Linked DNA regions of Homo sapiens: regions 1, 2 and 4 are each linked to region 3. Evidence: promoter capture Hi-C in 16 types of primary human blood cells and fetal thymus (Javierre and others, 2016). All regions are on one chromosome and are shown on one strand. Each heading gives the region's core, a stretch centred on a gene start or on the middle of the fragment in contact. The rest is flanking DNA. Distances are from core to core; before and after follow the strand shown. Region 1 overlaps MBNL1 (muscleblind like splicing regulator 1). Region 2 has its middle 250 kb from the start of MBNL1-AS1. Region 3 holds the start of P2RY1 (purinergic receptor P2Y1). Region 4 has its middle 220 kb from the start of MBNL1-AS1.

The links. The method cuts DNA at HindIII sites, captures the fragments that hold promoters and counts their contacts. A CHiCAGO score of 5 or more calls a contact.
Region 1: a contact is called between a fragment that was not itself captured here and the fragment with the promoter of P2RY1 in region 3, in 1 of 17 cell types (megakaryocytes). The highest score is 8.8, in megakaryocytes.
Region 2: a fragment that was not itself captured here is called in contact with the fragment with the promoter of P2RY1 in region 3 in 1 of 17 cell types (megakaryocytes); the score reaches 6.3 in megakaryocytes.
Region 4: a fragment that was not itself captured here is called in contact with the fragment with the promoter of P2RY1 in region 3 in 2 of 17 cell types (megakaryocytes and M2 macrophages); the score reaches 6.0 in megakaryocytes.

What each region holds. Positions count from the first base shown.
Region 1 is chr3:152,464,820-152,470,087 of GRCh38, forward strand. MBNL1 (muscleblind like splicing regulator 1) reads left to right here. Exons shown (of 10, transcript NM_021038.5): 10 at 1-961. Among named protein-coding and RNA genes, the nearest start is that of MBNL1-AS1, 200 kb to the left of the region's middle. The HindIII fragment of the contact is 1,721 bases long and covers 1,535-3,255 here.
Region 2 is chr3:152,512,172-152,518,039 of GRCh38, forward strand. No RefSeq gene overlaps it. Among named protein-coding and RNA genes, the nearest start is that of MBNL1-AS1, 250 kb to the left of the region's middle. The HindIII fragment of the contact is 6,585 bases long and covers 1-5,325 here.
Region 3 is chr3:152,832,199-152,837,686 of GRCh38, forward strand. It overlaps P2RY1 (purinergic receptor P2Y1), which reads left to right and starts at 2,933. Exons shown (of 1, transcript NM_002563.5): 1 at 2,933-5,488. The coding sequence starts at 3,585. The coding sequence ends at 4,706. RefSeq lists silencers at 2,840-2,889, 3,602-3,896 and an enhancer at 3,070-3,169. The HindIII fragment of the contact is 2,977 bases long and covers 1,630-4,606 here.
Region 4 is chr3:152,481,913-152,487,408 of GRCh38, forward strand. No RefSeq gene overlaps it. Among named protein-coding and RNA genes, the nearest start is that of MBNL1-AS1, 220 kb to the left of the region's middle. RefSeq lists a silencer at 2,489-2,694. The HindIII fragment of the contact is 1,398 bases long and covers 1,026-2,423 here.

The sequences.
Region 1 (5,268 bases), core at 1,145-3,644, 370 kb before region 3:
TGTATATAGTCAAAAGAGAGAAACCTGTATAATAGTAAGATCTTATTTTGAATAAAAACGTCTATAATTACAAGGAGTTTTGTTAAGGCTAATACAATGACAGACTGAGCAAAATTGCTTGCAAAAGTGGCACAGAGTTAGCACTCCATACCCCTTCAAACATGTTGCTTTGCTTTCTTGTGGACAGCTTGTAGTTTGCCAGGATTTTTTCAGCTGGAAAGATACGCCATCCTTTCAAACCCTCATGACTGACAAAAACTCCATGGGGCCAAATCTGCCTGAAGATCATTACCAAAAATAGCAGGTACTTCTACCATTAAGGTGAAATCATGGATCAGATATTCCTTACATTTTTCAAAACTACTGCATGTTTAAAACTTCAACAAAAAAAGAGAGAAAGAACTATACTAAGAACATATATTATTCAGATCAGTTTCTGCCAATTTCAGTGGTTTATTGTTCACAAAAAAATCTTCAAAACAAGTATTGACTTTCACAAAATTTAAATCATAAACAGGCAAACCAAACAGCACACTGTAGCTATAGTTGTTATGTGATTGTTTTTTAATTGCTGTAGGATCCTGTTCTTTCAGCAGGTGAAAAATAAAACGCAGTTCAAATTTCATGGTTTTAATTTTCAACTCAGAAGCACTCAAAAATGCAAAATGTGATAATGGGCACTTGTTTAAAAGAATTAGTGTATCCAGCCTTCACTCCAGCTGGTTAAAAATGTTGCACTTATCAGCAACCCTACCACTTTCATCTGCTGAAAGGACAAATGTGCTTGGTTTTACTATTATGTAATCACAACTTACTTTCTGCTTGTAGTTGCTTAAAATTATGTATTTTGTCTTGGGCTGCAATTTGTTTTATGCTTATTTTATTATTACTGCAGTAGTTGACTTTGCTGTATGGAAAAATAAAGTGAAATTGCCCTAATAAAACTTCTCTTTCTTAAGTATATTCGTGTATCTGAGATTGAATACTAAATTATTTTTGCGTGTTTCATGTATTCATGCATATGTATCTATCTTTACAAACATATTGATGTATAAATTTGTTACCTGGTTTTAACTGATTGCAACTGCGAGGAAGGCATTTGTTGTCTTTCTCACTAATTATCCTTTGACACTGAGAGGGAGAATCTAAATCAGCATATATTGCCCTCCTGTGCCCAATGTTTTCTGAAATTCTTGCCTTCCCCTGTCTGACACTTTAAGCGCTGATTGAAATAGTTTTAAGTGTCAGGGCAAAAAACGGTAAGAAAAAAATTATTATACATTATAGATCACTATCTATCTTTTATTAAAGAAATCTTATTTGCCTGACTGCTGCGTCAGCTGATTAGGACTGGAAATCAGGCAATCCAAGAGAGGTGATGGCACTGTATTCAGAGGGATGAAAGAAATTATGCATATGATCTATGAGGCAGGCCATGATATTACTCCTGAGGGGTGTGTGTGTGTGTGTGTGTGTGAATGTCTTAAACGGTGGGTTAAAAACTTTGTTGAAGTGGGGCCTGGCATCACATATAAGCTTTGCAGTTTCTACAGATAGCCAGTGAATGCCAAAGTTTCAACATGAAGAACGTGCACATTGTATCATTTAGTTCTACTTTATGCTGACTGCCACTTGGTATTTGGTCAAGAGTTACAAATGCTCATTTGTAGGTTGATGCCTTTTTTTCTAAAATTTATTGTGATAAAAATAGGTGCATTATTCATAATCAATACAGTTCTGTTACTGGTTGAGTTCTAAAGGACAATTCTGTTATTTTCAGTAGGTCCAACTGTTCTGGGTGCCACTTGTCAAAAAGAATGGCTGCCCTGAAGATGATTGTCTAAAGCAGGAGTTCACAGCCTTTTTTGAGTAATATCAAGACATCTGGCTCTTTCCAGTTAGTGATATTTTGGAAATCTTTTCATTGAAAAAATGCATAACTAAAAGTCCTTGTAACTTTTGCAATACTTTAAATGAAACTGTATTTTGTTAATCACAACAGCATATACATGCATCTGAAAAATTATTTTCAGAAGAGTTATTATTACAACGCCCACTAGGAGTCCTCAGCTCACAGAATGGGACTCTGTTAGAAGTCATTCGTTTTTCATTTGGAGAACAAAATCGTTTGCTAGAGCTATTACTTCATCACATACCCTTGGTACTCATGGAATTTAAACTTTGAAATGATACTAAAGGTCAGTGATGTAGCAATCTATTATTTCACTGAGACATACTTTTGAATGCCTGTATGAATGCTTTCATACAGGAAGTAGTCACTAAAGCACTGGGGAGACATTGCAGTGGTCGAGGAACGGCTCAAAAATCAGAACACCTGGAATCACGTCGCAGCTCCCTGACCTTGGCAAATTACTTCTCTGACTCAGTTTCCACTTTAATAAAATAAGTACGAGAATATAAATACTGCACCATTATTGAGTGGTTTCCAGACTTTGCTGCAAACTGGAATTGTCGGGGGGATTTTTTTTTTTTTTTTTTTTTTTTTTTTTTTTGAGACAGTCTTGCTCTGTGGCCCCGGCTGGAGTGCAGTGGCGCGATCTTGGCTCACTCCAAGTTCCGCCTCCCAGGTTCACGCCATTCTCCCGCCTCAGCCTCCCGAGTAGCTGGGACTACAGGCGCCTGCCACCACGCCCGGCTAATTTTTTGTATTTTTAGTAGAGATGGGGTTTCGATACTTTTAAAATAAAACTCAATAAAAGTATCGATACTTTTAAAAGATCCCCCAGATAACTGGTTCCTACCTGCACACATTCTGGTTTAATGACTATGGAGGAAAGAACTGGGTTAATATATAAAAAGAGCTTAGAAAGTTGCTTGGTTTATAGCAAGTAATTGATACATGTTAACTATGATTGCTATTTTATCAATTTTAAAAATCACTCCACTTATTCTTCAACTTTTTATCCTGATTCTTCGATTACACATCCCTTTCAAAGTAGCCAGGTACACACACTCTCTCATTTATATTATCTGTAATTTTATCTTTCATGTTTAGCAATGAAACTATCTTGTAATTTACCACCACCACAAGACCTGCTGTTACTTCATTTATACTATTTCAAAAACAGAATCAAGTACATTTTTATTAACTCTGAAAATTTTGTATAATTCTTATTTCAATTTGATATGGTCAATCTGAAAATTTTGTATAGTTCTTACTTCAATTTGATATGGTCACAGACAACACCTAGCCCATTTAGACCCAATATGAAAGTAACCATTTAGGCATATCTAAGCTTAACTCTTTGAATCCCCCTTCAAATATTTTAACTGTGTTCAAGATCAAGTAATAGAATGAATGCATTATGAAAATGATACCATTAAATAATGTATTTTAAATATTTTTATTGTATTTATCAAAATAATACTTCTAGTAACATTTCAGTGACACTAGTATATTTCCATAACATGTTTCATCATAGGTTTATTTTGAATGCTTAAATTAGTACTATTTCAACTTAAACATATTAGAATCTGGTTATATACTGTACAGGATGCTAGGCTCTGAGATACAAGGATCAATGGCAAGAACCTTACAGTGTAATGACTAAAACAAAATATGTAGAGTATGTAATTCCATCTGTATAGACACTCATCTAGTATTTCCCTCCTCCCTCACTAGTCCGAATCTCTTTATACCACAAAATAATTTAGAATAAAATTAAATAAAAACTACATTCTCTTCTGGAATACAATGATACAACTCCCCTACTTACTGTCTAACTCACTTTATCCTTAAAAATTAACTTGAATATTGAAAAAATATTTTTGAATAAACATGTTCATTGCAGCATTTTTATAATGGCAAAATCCTGGTCTCAATACTTAGGAAATGTTTCAATACTTAGGAAATAAGTAAAGTATCATACAGTGTTATATATTTATAAAGCATTTTTTCAAAAATGAGTTAATCACATAGGAAAGTAATTTTAGTGGTAAGATAATAGGAGACTTTAATTGGCTTTTCAGAGATTTCTAGTTTAGTAAATATTCATTGTTTTTTAAATTTATTTTTTTTAAAATCTGAATTATTTACTTTTTTCTTAGACCATTTCCCTATTTAGTTGAGTCAGTTTGTCATCTTCAGAATCTTAAAATGTCCTACAAAACTTCCACTTTACCTATCACTGTTAGTTGAGAAATTATAGAAGACATCTTGCCAAATCAGTAAAATATGTATGCTGTTTTAGTAAAATATGTGTTGTTTTAGTGAAAAATAGCAAAAGGATATGAATAAAACTCCTTTTAACTTTTTTTTAAATTGTTCTTTTTTTTTTGAGACAGGGTCTTCCTCTATTGTCCAGGCTGGAGTGCGGTGGCATAAACATGGCTAATTGCAGTCTCAACCTTCTGGGCTTAAGCAATCCTCCCAGCTCAGCCTCCCAAGTAGCTGGGACTACAGGCATGCACCACTACACCCAGAGAATTTTTTAATTTTTTCGTAGAGATGGGGGTCTTCCTATTTCCCCAGGTGGGTCTTGAACTCCTGGGCTCAAGCAATCCACCTTGGCCTCTCAATTTAATTTAATTTAATCAATTAAATCATCTTTTTGTTTTAGGAGTATCTCATCACCTTCCCGACTCTTTAAAAGATGCTGAGTCACCAGAATTGGTTAATATCTACTATAATTTTATCAAAAAAAGATAACTGTGTGCAAAATACCTTAGGAGGATTTGCTAACAGGGTAACTATAATAATGTGGGAGATGAGAGCAAGGTGTGCTCGAAGAAGGTGACATTTGAGCAGAGACCTTGTTAAAGTAAAGGTGGCATAACATTACCTCGGTGGCATACACTCTCCAGCCATCTTTGCTATTGGATACTGACTCATCCTTCTTGCCAAATTAAATGCCACTGCATCAAGAAGTATTATTTTCCCTCCTGACACTATGAAGCATTATTATTTGCTTTATTTTTTTCATGATGTATTGCTTTTAACTGTATTTCAGTACTCATTTTGTTCTGATATTTCAAATTTGTTTACAGTTTGGAATTGTTCCAAAGACAGGTACATTCTTGCTAGGAGGAACCAGTCTTACTCATGTCTGTGAAGCACCTAGAGCCTAGCATCTAGTTTTTATTTAGTAGGAACTGGCTGATTGTATACATTAATATTTATTAAATCTGTCTTCTAGCCTTCATGGAAAATGCAGATGAGGAACATTCTATGACACTCTACTTTTCAGATTGTAAAAACAATGCAGACACAGTATCTAGAAAGGTTGATTGACTCAATACCTTCCATTC
Region 2 (5,868 bases), core at 783-3,282, 320 kb before region 3:
ATATCACACGCCTAACACAGTGCCTGGTGTAGAGTAAGGACTCGGCAAACTTGACCAATTAGTTATTCTCTGTCTCAGGCTCAAGATAAGACATTGTGTAAAGGCACAGAAAAACAAGAAGACTCAACCCTGAACCCCATGGAGCTTTCTCCCACCCGTCAGACGTTTCCTCCCTGTGAATAGGCATCAGAAAAGCAACAGCTCTCGCTTTTACAAAGTAGTTAATTCATACAAACCTGGAATTTTCAAACAAATTTTGATCAACAACAACAAAGCCAATTACTTAAATCCTTGTGTATATATGATTTTTCAATGTACTGCTTTAGAATTCTCACATTCAGGCTGGGTGTAGTAGCTTAAACCTGTAATCCCAACACTTTGGGAGGCCGAGGTGGGAAGATAACTTGAGGCTGAGAGTTTGAGACCAGATTGCTCAATATAGTGAGACCCTGTCCCTACTATATATATATATACACACACACACATTTTATATATATATATATATCCTGGTATGGTGGCATGTGCCTGTTGTCTCAGCTACTAGGGAGGCTAAGGTGGGAGGATCCCTTGAGCCAAGGAGGTTGAGGCTGCAATAATCCATGACTGCACCACTGCACTCCAGCTTGGGTGACAGGGTGAGACCCTGTTTTCAGAAAACAAACAAACCAAACAAGAATTCTCACAGTTTAAAGAGGAAGAAATGCAAAGGAGAAAACCCATAAGTAAATCAGAATTATTTTCCCTTTATCATACACAATGAATAACTAACTGAAGAAAAGATTGTCTTTAAAAACATGTCATGGTAGAGTGAAAAAAAGGGATATATATTTTAGAATATATGTCTACAGCTTCCTCTGGAATTCCAACTTTGCTCAGGATACTTTTGTTACTGCTATAAAATAGAAAGGTACCAGCCTGGCCAACACAGTGAAACCCCGTCTCTACTAAAAATACAAAAAAATTAGCTGGGCGTGGGGGCGGGCACCTGTAATCCCAGCTACTCAGGAGGTTGAGGCAGGAGAATTGCTTCAATCTGGGAGGCAGAGGTTGCAGTGAGCCAAGATCATGCCATTGCACTCCAGCCTGGGTGACAGAGCTAGATTCAGTCTCAAAAAATAATAATAAAATAAAATAAAATAAAATAAAATAAAATAAAATAAAATAAAATAAAATAAAATAAAATAGAAAGGCAGTCCTGAGTGAAGGTGACGACATCAAGACTGATTTGGTGAAGGTTGTTAGGTGACAATAATTATTAATAGCTCCATTTTGTGGACTAAAAAAACTAAACCAAACAAAAACCAAAAAAACCCCTCAATTTTAATTTTAGATCTCAAAAAAGATGAACCATAGCATGAACTGTTAGACAAGGCAAAATAATTCAAAAGGGGCCTTCTTGGTATTTCAGAAAAGAGGAATTGAGATTTTTTTCAAAAGTTAAATTTAAGAAAAAGCCTGATTATAATAAAAGCTGCTTTTCTTAAGAGATACCATTCAGAATTGATTACCTTCTTTCACACGATACAACATTAGATATGATTAGATATGATTGACAAGCATGCCAAAGGCTTCATTCTTCTAGCTGATTATCAACTTTTCTTCCTGGGAGCCAATTTCAATGAGCTGTTATATTTTGAAGTGCTGTCACAGATTTATTGGAAGGAACTAGAAATGTTAGTTCCTTATGTCTGCAATTCCAGTAGGAATTCCATGTCTGAGTATTTTAAGTTTAATAATATAATTTTAAAGAAATTTTTAGAACTGTATGGAGAAATGGAGCAGAATTACCACAAATAAATATTTATAGGAAAGCTATAGAACATCAGAACAGTGCTTCCTATAGTCAATCATATTTAACTGCCTGTTATTGTGAATTGATATATGTTGTTGCAAACAGTGAACTGAATACTAGACTAGCACATAAAAGTCAAATGAAATAGAGTTGTTAATACTTTTTTGAGCAGAAATCGAGTAAGTACTCCTTGTAGCATGAAAGGATACATCTAACTCTTAGAAAATCTATTTTCTGCTGAAGGGAAGGTGTGACCATTTATACAGTTAAAGTTAATCAGGCTGGGTGCAGTGGCTCACGCTTCTAATTCTAGCACTTTGGGAGGCTGAGGTGCGTGGATTGCTTGAGCCCAGGGGTTCAAGACCAGCCTGGGCAACATGGTGAAATCCTGTCTCTACAAAAAATACAAAAAAATTAGCTGGGTATGGTGGTGTGCACCTGTAGCCCCAGCTACTCCAGAGGCTGGGTTGAGAGGATCACTTGAGCCTGGGAGGGCAAGGTGGAAGTGAGCTGTGACCGCCCCACTGTGCTCCAGACTGAGCAACAGAGCAAGACCCTGTCTTAAAAAATAAAGAATAAAGTTAATTAATCCTTCATGGGACAAATGAGTCTATAAAAATATCACAAACTAAGGATGTCTAACCTGCATAGAATGTCACTATCTTTCTAGAAGTAACACTTGAAAATTACTTAGGATGGTGTCTGGCACATGGTAGATGCTCAATAAATGTTAACTGTATCATCATTTAGAAATGGTATTAGGGGCTGGGTGTGTTGGCTTACGCCTGTAATCTCAGCACTTTGGGAGGCTGAGGCCCTTGAGTTCAAGAGTTTCAAGAGTTTGACACCAGCCTGGCCAACATGGTGAAACCCTGTCTCTACCAAAAATACAAAAATTTAGCTAGTTATGGTGGTGGGTGCCTGTAGTCCCAGCTACTCGGGTGACTGAGGCATGGAATCGCTTGAACCCAGAGGTGGAGATTGCAGTGAGCCAAGATCATGCCATTGCACTCCAGCCTGAGCAACAGAGAGAGACTCCATCTTAAAAATAAAAAAAAAAAGAAAGAAAGAAAGAAAAAGAAAGAAAGAAATAGTATTTAGTTGGAAGTTAGAAAGATCTAAAAATAAGTGGCTTAAAAATACATTAACTTTTTGCTTATGTACCATGGAGTCCAGAAGCAGGCTGTTCAAGTTTGGTAGTATATTGACTACTTTGGCTATATTATATTATCAAACTCTCAGAACACTTCTGTTAAAGTTTACATCCTCAGAACCACCTCATGCTCACAAGACGGCTGCCCGGAGTCTATTTTTCATATACAAGTGCAAAGAAGGAAGAGAAAAGAAAGGTGGTTCTGCAAAGGGATGAATGCCAGCTGGATACACACACACGTGCACACGCGCACACACACACACACACACACACACACACAGAGAGAAAGGTTTCTAGAACCCTACCCAACAACTTTTGCCCAAATATCATTAACCTAAACTCAGTCACATGCCTTCCTTTTTCTTTAAGATGGAAATATTGTATTTTAGCTGAATGCATTGCTAAACATAATGAAATCAAATTTCTGTTGTTAAGAAATAAGGGAAAATTATACATTGGTGTTATGTGGGAAATTTACAGAAAAGAATTACATAGGGGAAAATTGGATTTGGGGAGGGAATTAGAAATCTTTCCCATTGTTATTAATGAGATTATGTTTATTTGGAAGTTTACGAATAAACTAATCCTTTTTCAGGTGTTTGCTTCTCTGTGGGACTAAAATATTTTCCTTTCAGCAATGTGCTGGAGAAGCCAGCTTATACCTACTTGCAGGAACCAATTGAGAAATTCTTAAGAATTTTGTAAGTCAGTAATGAAACACAGCCATTATTTTAAAAATAAATACTATAAATATGGAATTAAATTATGTTAGAAACAAAGGATAGTAAATACTTAGAACAGCTCACTTCCTAATTTTTTTCTACAATTTACTGTTATCTGTGCTGTTGGCATGATGTACATCTATTGTATCTGTATAGTGAAAATATTATGTGATAGAAACCTGTATAATGGTATCTACTGTACCTCTCTTCCCAACTCTGAATTCAGTAACATCACTTTGGTATCTTAAAACTGGCCATATAGGGAATATTTACATCACAGAAGTTGACAAACACTAAAATGAGGGCCCTTTTCCCTGAAGAATAGGTTGTAAAAATCTACCAGCATGCTTCTGCCTTCTAATATTTACAAATACATTTTTAATAGTTTGCTGTATTAATGGTGGCCAGTATAGAGATCAGAGTAGAGATAAATTTAATGTTTCACTAGCATAACCACATACAGAAGGTTAACCAGTGAGTACATTAAGAGGGAAGGAACTGTTTTTCTTCTATTCATGTCTTGCAACAGCTCTCATGGGACCACCAACACCACCAGCCAGATATTTCAGCTCCGAGCTAGAGAAATGAATTTTTTGTGACCAACTCCTTGGGGAAATAGGAAAGGAGAGGAACTGCTACATGTTTTCCCCTGAGGACTAATAAATTTGTTTATGTCTCTTTGAGCATAGAGCACTCATCAGAAAAGAAAAAGATACTTTAAAAAACCCCCACAATTCTCCCTCATCGCCTCTTTCATTGCCACTCTTTGAAGCGTAAATAAATGAGGCATTTGGGGCAAATAAATGTAATATTAAGCAGAAAATAAATGAGACAATATAGTGATAATCATTGAAAAGAGTGATTTATAGCTCCTCTTCTGTATCTAGTATTTAAATTGATCATATTAAATTAAAATTAATTTTTTCACCTGGAGTATTTTTTCTTTTTGTTATCTACAATTTTGTGTAAACCTTCTGCCCCACTCTCTGGAGTGTAAGATGGTGCCAGAGAGATTTACAGGAGAAAGTAGTTTAACAACATACTGCTTTGGTGAGGTTATGGGGAAGAAAGAGCTCTTCATTGCTGAGGGAAGCGTGAATTAGTATGACCTCTATGAAGAAAAATTTGGCAACATTTATCAAAACTGTAAATGCATATAGCCTTTGACCCAGCAATTCTACTTTTGGAAATATACTCTCTAGATGTACTTGTATATATATGAAATGATATAGGCTCAATATTATTCTTTGTAATATTTTTGCATAATAGCTAATTGTTAGAATAAATGTAAAATCCATCAATAGGAGTGGCTAAATAACCTAAGATTTATTTTTGCAGTGGAGTGTTACATGGCTGTAAAAAATAATAATAATCCTAGAAACTATATAGTGAAAAAAACCCAAGAGTTAGAACAGTATGTATAATATACCTTTTGTGAAAAATAAGAGAAAATAAAAATCTATATTTATATCCTCTTGAATATGCATTACTCTGAAAAGATCCGTAGAATCTAAGAATAGAGATTTCTATGTAGAAAAGGAGGTTCTGGCTAGATGAGGGACAAGGTTGGAAGGAAAGGAACATTTTTTACTTTTAACTTTTATAGCTATTCACTTTTTGAGCCATGTGAATGTATTATGTACTTAAAAATACCTTAAAGCTTAAATACATAGCTTGCAATACTTAAAGAGAAACTTCCCTTCCATCAACAGAGACGCTGTTTAGTGTGATTTAATAAGGAGTTCTAGCTGTGAGATGGCTCACTCACTCAAAGATATAAGAGAGGAGAGTTTAGTCATGTGCAGATTTAAGGGAATCAACATAAGAGAGTGAGACACTGAGGGATTAGCAAGAGCAGAATGCCAGAGACACCACTATTCTGGAAGGGAAAAGGAATGGAGCGGTCATGGAGATGCTGCAGAGACAACAGCTCTGAACAGAATGCAGCCACTGCCAGGAACAGTGAGGCAGTAAGGAGCAGAAAGAATCAATATCCCAACCTTTCTGTCCTCTCACCCCTGATCTCCAGCTAGTGACACACAGAAGCCAGAGGATAAGGAAGCCTGGAGTGTACTCTGGAGAGTGGTCATCTTCCTGGGGGACAAAAGAAGACAGAGAATACAGAGAATGGATCTGGGCAACAAATGAAAAATAATGAGTGCAGGATATCAGGATGGCAATTTGCATCCTGGATGTGTGTG
Region 3 (5,488 bases), core at 1,683-4,182:
AGTAATGGCAGGCCGGGCGCGGTGGCTCATGCATGCCTGTAATCCCAGGACTTTGGGAGGCTGAGGCGGGCGGATCATGAGGTCAGGAGATCAAGACCATCCTGGCTAACTAACACTGTGAAAACCCCGTCTCTACTGAAAATACAAAAAAATTAGTCGGGCATGATGGCGGGCGCCTGTAGTCCCACGCCAGGCAGGAGAATGGCATGAACTCGGGATGTGGAGCTTGCAGTGAGCCGAGATTGCGCCACTGCACTCCAGCCTGGGCGACAGAGTGAGACCCCGTCTCAAAAAAAAAAAAAAAAAAATTAACATGGAATGCTTAGGGATGTCACTTAAATATGTAAGAATTTTTTATCATGTCTTTAAGCCATCTATAATTGATGTTCAAATGTGAATAATGATTCTTAGATTTTTTCTTCATTAATAATAGTTGAATGTTTTACAAATAGAAAGTTATAGTAATTACTGAATATATGTAACTTATTCCCACAAGGCAAAATTTTGATTTAAAGCATAACTGAAACATAACTGTGTAGTTAAATATGTTGAATGCAAAAGCAATGCTTACAAAGTTTGTTTATTTATTTATTTATTTATTTATTTATTTTGAGACGGAGTCTCACTCTGTCGCCCAGGCTGGAGTGCAGTGGCTCGATCTCAGCTCACTGCAAGCTCCGCCTTCTGTGTTCACACCATTCTTCTGCCTCAGCCTCCCGAGTAGCTGGGACTACAGGTGCCCGCCACCACACCCGGCTAATTTTTTGTATTTTTAGTACAGAGGGGGTTTCACCGTGTTAGCCAGGATGGTCTCCATCTCCTGACCTCGTGATCTGCCCACCTCGGCCTCCTAAAGTGTTGGGATTACAGGCGTGAGCCACAGCGCCCAGCCCAAAATTTATTTTTTAACATCATTTTTTAAAAAGTCTGTGGTGCACTTAAAACAACTATCCCCCAATTCCTAGTAAGGTGTCAGTTTTCTGCAAGTACTTAATGGTATCTGGACTAAGTGTACATTTCAAAACACTCACATTATGAGTTAATGCATTTGCAACAAACTTCTGAGTGAAGTCAGATATTGCCTAGGTTGCAAATAAAAAATGCAAAGGAGTGAGGACTTAAGACCTATTGAGTACCCCTGGAACCCTTAATGGTTTTCTTTGCTTCCTTTTCTCTCTTAATAGACAATCATCCCACCTAGGACCATACTAATCAAACAATACACAAATGTTTCATGTTAAGGCTCAGAATCATAGACTCATATAATCAGGAGATTGGAAGGAAACACAAAAAGTAAGACTTTTCAAGACAACCTCATTCACACTGTTTACTTGAATTATTTACTCTTGTTTTATTATTAATTTTTATGCTGTTCAATTGACTACAATTCAAAACCCAGTGTATTCATACCATGTGCTAAGATATGCTCCTTCCTATATGTGTTCCTCTAAAGAACCATCTGGATCTTGTGGGGGATATTTTCCTTTGTGGTATCAAAGCCAGGAGCTCGTGGTTTTCCTTTATTTTTTAAGGGAACACTATCATGTAGCATCTGGGACCAGAAAGAAATCTTGATGTTATATATTTTACAGATATTTTCTTTTTGGATTTTTTTTCCTCTAAGAGAAAAGCTTTTGTTAATGTGTCATGTAAAAATACATTAACTAGTAACTTGTCAAGAAGTGCTAGATTCCATTCTTGTGCGGGTCCATTTATATATGTTCCTGAACAGCTAATATTTCATTTAGTTTCCAATTAAACTTGCTCAAATACATTTTTGAAGTGCATTGCTTAAAATTTACATTCAAGGCAAGAAAACGAGTTTGTCAGTAAATGTAGTAATTAAGGAAGTCCCAAGTCTGTATTTTTAAGATACTAGAGGTAATTGTAACTAATCACTTTAACTTAAAGAAATAGAATTGGAAATACCCCCCTCCCCCCGCCACCCCCTACCAAAACCATACCTTAGTCACTTTGGAATTATAACCGTCTTTTACGTCTATCAATATAAATGTATTGCATTTGGCATTCAAATTACTTTCAAAGGGATAAATTTCGAATTTTTTTTTTTCATTGTAGCTTCTGATCTTTAAATGTACTGAACAGGAGGATTTGGGGAGCTTGTCTTGTCTGATAGGTGTTAAGTATCTATGACGACAAATTTGAGCTGAAGCAATGTGCAATATGGACTAGTAATATCTTCACAAGACTATTTTGGAAATTCTCACGTTGATGTTATTAATGACGTGGGTTTATTAGCATTTGGGTAATTAAGAAAAAACAGTACTAGAATTTAAAAAAAAGAAAAAAAAAGGTAAGAAGGGCGAAACAGAGTTCTCCACTCCTCTCCCAACCCTCATTCCTTTGGAGGCTCGCGCCCTCTTGGAATAGCAGGTTCCTGCATGTGCCAGAAATCCGGTCCCGGCAAAGCTAGACGCTCTGCAATGACAGGCGTTCCCAGCTAGGGACTCCTGGCTGCTTGGAGCTTGAAAACACCTGGCGTGGTTCTCGAGGGCCCTAGAGGCTCCTGCTACGGACTGGTCGGCTCTGGGGTTGTAGGCAGAAGGCTCTAAGCGGTCGGAAGGGTTTCCTGTGTGTCAGCAACTTCACTTTGCCGAGATAGCTGGCGGAAGAGGGAAGGAGCGCTCGCGGGCCAATCGCCTGCCAGCAGCCACCTTGGAGCGCACCCCTCTCCCTCGCCGCCGACTCCGGTAGCAGCGTGCCGGCAGAGGCTGAACACACTCGGCCTCGGCGGAGACCTGCTCCCCAGAAGACGCCTCCTGCTTCCCACTGCGCCCTGGAGGACGCGGGCTGGCTGCTGGGCGAGCTCGGCGGAGGCACGCCCCTCGCCTCCCCGCGGAGTGCGGACTCGCCCCGGTGCCCAAACTCCGCCCACCCTCTAGGGAGCTCCGCTCTCCCGCCTAACCCCGGCACTCCGGACAGAGCTGGGCCTGGGGAAGGGGTTCCTGAACTACGCGGACGCCGAACGGGACGCGCTGCAGAAGCGCACGAGTCTGCGGCCACGCGCGCTCCGATGGCTGCCAGGAGCTGAGCTCAGGGTGGGCGGAGGAAGCGGTTAGACGCCCCGAAACTGAGCTGCACGTTTCTAAGGTAGGGAGGAGGAAGATGCCCCCAATTAAGTTGATCTTTGAGCCAAGGAGGCTGGGGAGCAGCCTCCCCAAGCTAGAGCCCTGCAGAGCGAGTTTCCCTTGACCTCGCTGCGCCTCTGGCGCGCTCTGCAGCGCGGACCCGCGGCCCCTCGGGAAAGCGCAGTCGGAAAGTTATCCGCGGCGGTTCCCTGCGCGCCCTGTTGTGTAAGCTCGGCGTTGCCAGCGGACGGAGAAGTTGCTGGCTTGCCCGATAGCCCAGTTCGGTGGCGGCCCGGGGCGGATTTCATGGCCCGCGGCGAACGCGGGGCCAGAGCTGGCGTGGGCGAGCCCCTGCGCGCCCCCTCCCGCGGGGATCCAGTTCGCCTGCTCCCTTCCGCTCGCTGGCTTTTCCGATGCTTGCTGCGCCCCTGGCCGCCGCTGCCCTCTCGCCGCCTCCTACCCCTCGGAGCCGCCGCCTAAGTCGAGGAGGAGAGAATGACCGAGGTGCTGTGGCCGGCTGTCCCCAACGGGACGGACGCTGCCTTCCTGGCCGGTCCGGGTTCGTCCTGGGGGAACAGCACGGTCGCCTCCACTGCCGCCGTCTCCTCGTCGTTCAAATGCGCCTTGACCAAGACGGGCTTCCAGTTTTACTACCTGCCGGCTGTCTACATCTTGGTATTCATCATCGGCTTCCTGGGCAACAGCGTGGCCATCTGGATGTTCGTCTTCCACATGAAGCCCTGGAGCGGCATCTCCGTGTACATGTTCAATTTGGCTCTGGCCGACTTCTTGTACGTGCTGACTCTGCCAGCCCTGATCTTCTACTACTTCAATAAAACAGACTGGATCTTCGGGGATGCCATGTGTAAACTGCAGAGGTTCATCTTTCATGTGAACCTCTATGGCAGCATCTTGTTTCTGACATGCATCAGTGCCCACCGGTACAGCGGTGTGGTGTACCCCCTCAAGTCCCTGGGCCGGCTCAAAAAGAAGAATGCGATCTGTATCAGCGTGCTGGTGTGGCTCATTGTGGTGGTGGCGATCTCCCCCATCCTCTTCTACTCAGGTACCGGGGTCCGCAAAAACAAAACCATCACCTGTTACGACACCACCTCAGACGAGTACCTGCGAAGTTATTTCATCTACAGCATGTGCACGACCGTGGCCATGTTCTGTGTCCCCTTGGTGCTGATTCTGGGCTGTTACGGATTAATTGTGAGAGCTTTGATTTACAAAGATCTGGACAACTCTCCTCTGAGGAGAAAATCGATTTACCTGGTAATCATTGTACTGACTGTTTTTGCTGTGTCTTACATCCCTTTCCATGTGATGAAAACGATGAACTTGAGGGCCCGGCTTGATTTTCAGACCCCAGCAATGTGTGCTTTCAATGACAGGGTTTATGCCACGTATCAGGTGACAAGAGGTCTAGCAAGTCTCAACAGTTGTGTGGACCCCATTCTCTATTTCTTGGCGGGAGATACTTTCAGAAGGAGACTCTCCCGAGCCACAAGGAAAGCTTCTAGAAGAAGTGAGGCAAATTTGCAATCCAAGAGTGAAGACATGACCCTCAATATTTTACCTGAGTTCAAGCAGAATGGAGATACAAGCCTGTGAAGGCACAAGAATCTCCAAACACCTCTCTGTTGTAATATGGTAGGATGCTTAACAGAATCAAGTACTTTTCCCCTCTTTAACTTTCTAGTTTAGAAAAAAATCAAACCAAGAAAATAGTGAGTTAAAAAAATAATAGAAGTAGAAATGCCCACATCCACACTTAGCTTGTTTGGGTTTGCTTTCACAGTCTCTCTTCCTTCTGACTAGAAGTATGTATAATAAAACAATACTACCTAGTTAAACATTTACTTTCTCTTTTGCCTTTAAAATGTGCAGGCTTTTCTGTTTAAAGTGTGTGTGCACATGAGTACTGGGGCTGTTTTTGATATTAGTAATTTCTCTAAGAAAACTAGCCCCCTGCAACTTGAGTTTGTGGTTTATCTAGCCTTTATTGTTTTTTTAAAATCCACAGTAGGAATAAAAAATCTATATTCTCAGAAATATCTAGCATGGTATATAACAAAACACTAAACTCATCAGTTCATCCGGCATCAGATCAATGGATCTCTGAGCGGGGTGTTTTTTTCAGTGTCTTATAAGCATAGATGATAGTTGACTGAGTTTCTTTAGGGCATTGAATAGACAAGTAAAGCTAATGAATTTAAAAGCCTGAAAAGTGATTGTTTTCCAGTTATTTCTGGAAAAGGTCTCATTATATATTGGGTGCTAAATGTTTGATGGGGAAAGCCTGCATATATTATCGTACTGGTAAAATGCATTCAAAATAATTAAAGTGCATGTATTTTCCTTGTAAACACCATGAGCTCTCTTAGACATCTTGT
Region 4 (5,496 bases), core at 475-2,974, 350 kb before region 3:
TTTTAAATTTCTGCCTTGATTTTATTGTTTACCCAAAAGTCATTCAGGAGCAAGTTGATTAATTTCCATGTAAATGTGTGGTTTTGAGAGATCTTCTTAGTATTGATTTCTATTTTTATTCCACTGCAGTCTGAGAGAATGGTTGGCATGATTTCAATTTTTTAAATTTATTGAGGCTTGGTTTATGGCTGAACATGTAGTCAATTTTGGAATATGTTCCATGTGCAGATGAGAAAAATGTATATTCTGTGATTGATGGGTGGAGTATTCTGTAGATGTCTTTTAGGTCCAATTGGTCAAGTACCAAGTTTAAGTCTAAAATTTCTTTGTTAGTTTTCTGCCTTAATGATCTGTCTAATACTTTCAGTGGGGTGTTGAAGTCCCTAACTGTTGTTATGTGGCTAAGTCTTTTCATAGGTCTAGAAGTACTTGTTTTATGAATCTGGTTTCCCAAATGTTGGGTGCATAGGTATTTAGTATAATTAAGTCTTCTTGCTGAATTGAGCCCTTTATCATTATGTAATGCTATTTTTTGTCTTTTTTTTTTCACTGTTTTTGATTTAAAGTCTCTTGTATCTGACATAAGAATAGCAACCATTGTTCTTTTTTGTTTACTGTTTGCATGGTAGATCTTTCTCTAACCCTTAGAGCCAGTGGGTGTCATTATGTGTGAGATGGGTCTCTTGAAGACAGCAGATAGATGGATTGCATTTTTTTATCCAACTTGCCACTCTGTGCCTTCTAAGTGAAGCATTTGGGCCATTTATATTCAAGGTTAATATTGATATGTGAGGTTTTGATCCTATCATGAAGTTCTTAGCTGGTTGCTTTGTACTTTCTATTAGGTAGTTGCTTTATAGAGTCAGTGGGCTATGTACTTAAGTGTTTTTGTGGTAGCAGGTATTGATCTTTTGTTTCCATGTTTAGAGTTTCCTTAAGGATCTCTTGTAAGTCTGGTCTAGTGGTAACAAATTCCCTTAGCACTTGCTTGTCTGGCAAATATTTTATTTCTCCTTCACTTATGAAGCTTAGTTTGGTGTGATAAAATGAAATTCTTTGTTGAAATTTATTTTAAGAATGCTGAAAATAGGCCCCTGATCTCTCTTGGCTTGCAAGGTTTCTGCTAAGAAATGTGCTCTTAACTTGATGAGGTTCCTTTTGTACATAATCTGCCCTTTTTTTCTAGCTGCCTTTAAATTTTTTTTTCTTTAGCACTTACCTTGGACAATCTAGTGACTATATGCCTTGGTGTTGATTATTTTGTATGATATCTCACAGATGTTCCCTAGATTTCTTGTATCTAAATATCTACCTCTCTAGCAAGATTAAAGAAGTTTTCTTGAATTATTCCTTCAAATATATTTTCCAGGTTGTTTACTTTTTCTCCTCTCTCAGAAATGCCAATAACTCACAGATTTGGTTGCTTTATGTAATCCCATAATTCTTGAAGACTTTTTTTCTTAAAAATCTTTTTTCTTTATTTTTGATTTTTGTCTGACTTAGTTCAAAAGATTGATGTTCTAACTCTGAAATTTTCTTCTGCTTGGTGTAATCTGTTGATAAGGCTGTCGATGGTATTTTGAAATTCCTTAAGTGAGGGTTTTTTTTTTTTTTTTGAGATAGAGTCTCGCTTTTTTGCCCAGGCTGGAGTGCAGTGGTGCGATCTCGGCTCACTGCAAGCTCTGCCTCCCGGGTTCACGCCATTCTCCTGCCTCAGCCTCCCGAGTAGCTGGGACTACAGATGCCCGCCACCATGCCCAACTAATTTTTTTGTATTTTTAGTAGAGACAGGGTTTCACTGTGTTAGCCAGGACGGTCTTGATCTCCTGACCTCGTGATCCACCTGCCTCGGCCTTCCAAAGTGCTGGGATTACAGGCATGAGCCACCACTCCTGGCCTTAACTGAGTTTTTTAATTCCAGAAGTTCTGATTCATTTTTTTAAAGATGTTTATTCCTTCCTTCATTTCCTGGATTGCTTTAGAAGTTTCTTTGTATTAATTTTCAACCTGATCTTGAATGTCATTGAGCTTCCTTGCAATCTATGCTTTGAATTCTTTATCTGTCATTTCTGAGTTTCCATTTTGGTTAGGAACCATTGCTAGAGAGCTAGAGCAATCCTTTGATCGTGTCACCACATTCTTATTCTTCATGGTGCCAGAATTCTTATGCTCTTTCTTTCCCATCTGGAGATGCTGGTACTTCTAATTTTTGTAATTGTTTTTGTGTGGGTAAGATTTTTTCTTTTTTGTTCTTCCTCTATAATGTTATTATTATATTATTTTTATCTTTCCTTTTCCCTTTTTCCCCATCCCTAGGGGTTGTGACTGTAGAGAAAGCTGGGTAGGGTATTATAGCTTTGCTTCCATAGCCCTATACACTTCTTTTAGCAGGTTTTATATTGCATTGTGGAGTACAATCTACAAGCTTGCAGATGGCACTTACAGGTAAGAGCTGGTGCTGGCCAGTTTGGCTGTGTAAATACTTGATCCTTGTTTAGTGGCAGAAACTCTCTGTTGCTTCAGGCAATAAGATGATTTGTGAAATGTATGGTTGTCTAATCTCCCTACTCAGCCCTGGGGAGGGGGGTACAAGGGGCAGACCTGGACTGGGAAGGTCCATGTACAGATCGTCCAATGTCAGGCATAGACACAAGTGCCAAGGGAGAATCCCATGAGAAGCCACCAAGTGCCTAGAGGCGTGCCTAGATGCGGAGCTAGGAAACCACCTTGGCTCTAAGTTCTCTGCACAGAGAGGTCAGGGATGCCGTAAACTACCAATCCAGAAGAGTGAGTCCTCCATATGCCTGGAGATCTGCCTGAGCATGCAGCAGAGAGAAGACCCCTGCACCAAGATCTCTGGACAGGAGGGCTGGGGTAACTCAGGCTGCTGAACTAGGCAAGCAGGTGCTCTGAATACCTGGAAATCTCCTTGAGCATGTAGCAGAGAGGACCCCACTGCACTAGGAACTCTGCACAGTAAAGATGGGGTGGCTCAGTCTGCTGGTCTAGCTGAGCTGGTGCTCAGAATGCCTGGAGATCTGCCTGGACATGGAGTAGAGAAAACCCCACTGCAACATGGAAATCATTTTTTTTAATTCTCACAACTAACTTACTGAGATAGGTATTTTTATCTCTATGAGGGAAACGAAAAAACTCAGGAACAGAGAGAACAAGTACCTTGCTAAATACACCAATAATAATTAAGCAATACTTCAAAATAGGTATTTCTGACTCTAGAGTTCTTAAGAATATCTTGAATTCTCAAGGCAAATATCATTGGTCTTGATCAATTTTAAATTGTGGTTCACCTGATTTATAACTGATCTGTTTTATTTTTATATAAATTTGATCACAATGGCTTAAAGCCATATAAACATTTGAAGAGATTATGCAGCTGGATTAGTCATTAAGCATTAATTTGGGTTAAAGGATATATATATATATAATATATATATAAAAGTACCAAATATATTAATACCAAATAATATAAATTAATACCAAGATAGGTATACCCTGATTTTATATATATAATAGATATACCCTGATTATATATATATAATAGATATGCCCTGATTTTATATATTATATAATATTATATAATATATAAAATCAGGGCATATCTATTTTGGTATTAATTTCTCTTCTTCTAAGGAAAGTAAATGAAATGTTTAATTATAAAGACGCATTGATTCATTTGTATCCCTGAGCACATTTTACAAGAAACCAATTCTAGTCATTTTAGTCATATCAATTGAAAAATTACTTATAAAGAGTGATAAAGAAGAAAAATATTATCATAAATATATAATATTTTATATTCAAGGTAATATTTTTTGTCTTTTATATTTAATGAGTCCAAAACTGATCTTTATAACTCTTTTCCTATTAAATCACCACCTACTATTGTAGTAAATTTGAATAGGGCAGATTCATCTTAATCTTGAAAATTTTTTAGTTCCTATTAAGCTCCTTCGTTATGAAAAATACTCACTTGGATTCTCTGAGAGGCTGATGAGCTGTTTCTAAAACCATATCTCCTCGAATCTGAGGGTGGAGTCACCTTGAAATTTATATTTGAATTATCCAAATTATTTATAATTTAAGACAAAGCTCAAGCAAGTGAATTTATTAGATTGTCCTCTTCAGTGAGAATCTTGTTTGGAGTTGGATTACGGAAGGAAGCAGCACAGTACCTAACTTCCAAACCTATCACTCTTGGTAAATGCTCAGCTATGAAACCATTACAAGTGAGGATCAGAGGCTTAATGCTTACAAATAAATTTATTCATGATGCCAAGTATTATAGCTAAAGTAATTTACCTCTCAGTACTACATTTCATTAGGAAAAATTAGATGTAAATATATATCTTAGCAGAAAAAAATATAAATATATATCTCACTGGAACAAACAGAAATGGTCATGCTTTTATTCTGAAGTATATTGTGAGTGAAAAAAGCCTAGAGGAAAAGAAAAAAATCTGAATACTTTCTGTGAGAACTCCACTTTATGAGTTTTATATGAATGATAAAATTTAATTGACAGAAATCTTTTATGATCTTCAGTTCACTTTTCAGGGGGACTAACAGCATTTCTGAGTCTCCTGAGTCAAGATCGTGTGAAGTTACATCATTTGGCAGTAAGGAAGCCAACAAGATCAGCAAACCATGTGTCAGCATTTGTCTGCAGGTACTTCTTTGTGTGTGTGCTTACTAAATTATTTATATTTATAATCTCATGTAATCAAAGGGAGACAAATGATTTTGTTCATGTCATAGAGGAAAAAAATTACTTGTTATTTAAAGTGCAAATGTATGTAGTAACTTCTGCCTACTAGGAGGCATGGCACATTTTTATCAATAGAAGTAATAATCTCCTTATTGCTCTATTTCTCTGAATTATCTATTTTAGAATAGTATGCTGCAAATGCAAATGTCTTGTGTAAGTAGGACATTTATGTTCCAGTCGTTGTTTCAGCCATGAAGAAGGAGAGAATTCTGCATTTTGATCAAATCAAGTGCAAAGACACAAACGGTCTTGGGAGAGGAGGTTCAAGTGAGAATCACAAGAGAGCAGGAATTATGAACCTAGGGCGATCACAGGAACCTAGGTCCCTGCAATACATAGAAATCTAATGGGTCTACACAGTATAGGAGGCAGCATGTGTGGGTAGGTATATTCCAATGTTTACTATGTTTGTGCAAGTATAGTATTACAATAAGGTTATGACTCCATTTCTTAATGTTTGTCTGCTAACAACTTTTAAGCTTCTCCTCTTCCTTTTCCTCTTTTTTCCCATATGTGGGCAACCTGATTAGAAAGCCTAATACTTTCTCCTTTGGCACCTGCAGGAAGTTCAAGCCGCATACAGGAATCCTCACCTCAGTCTTCCTCTCTGATTACATAAAAACCCCATGCTAGTCTTTTTTCCCTCCTCTGTCAAACTACTTTTGGATTTGCTTGGAATCTATCTTCCTCAAAAAGCCTCATTATTTGAG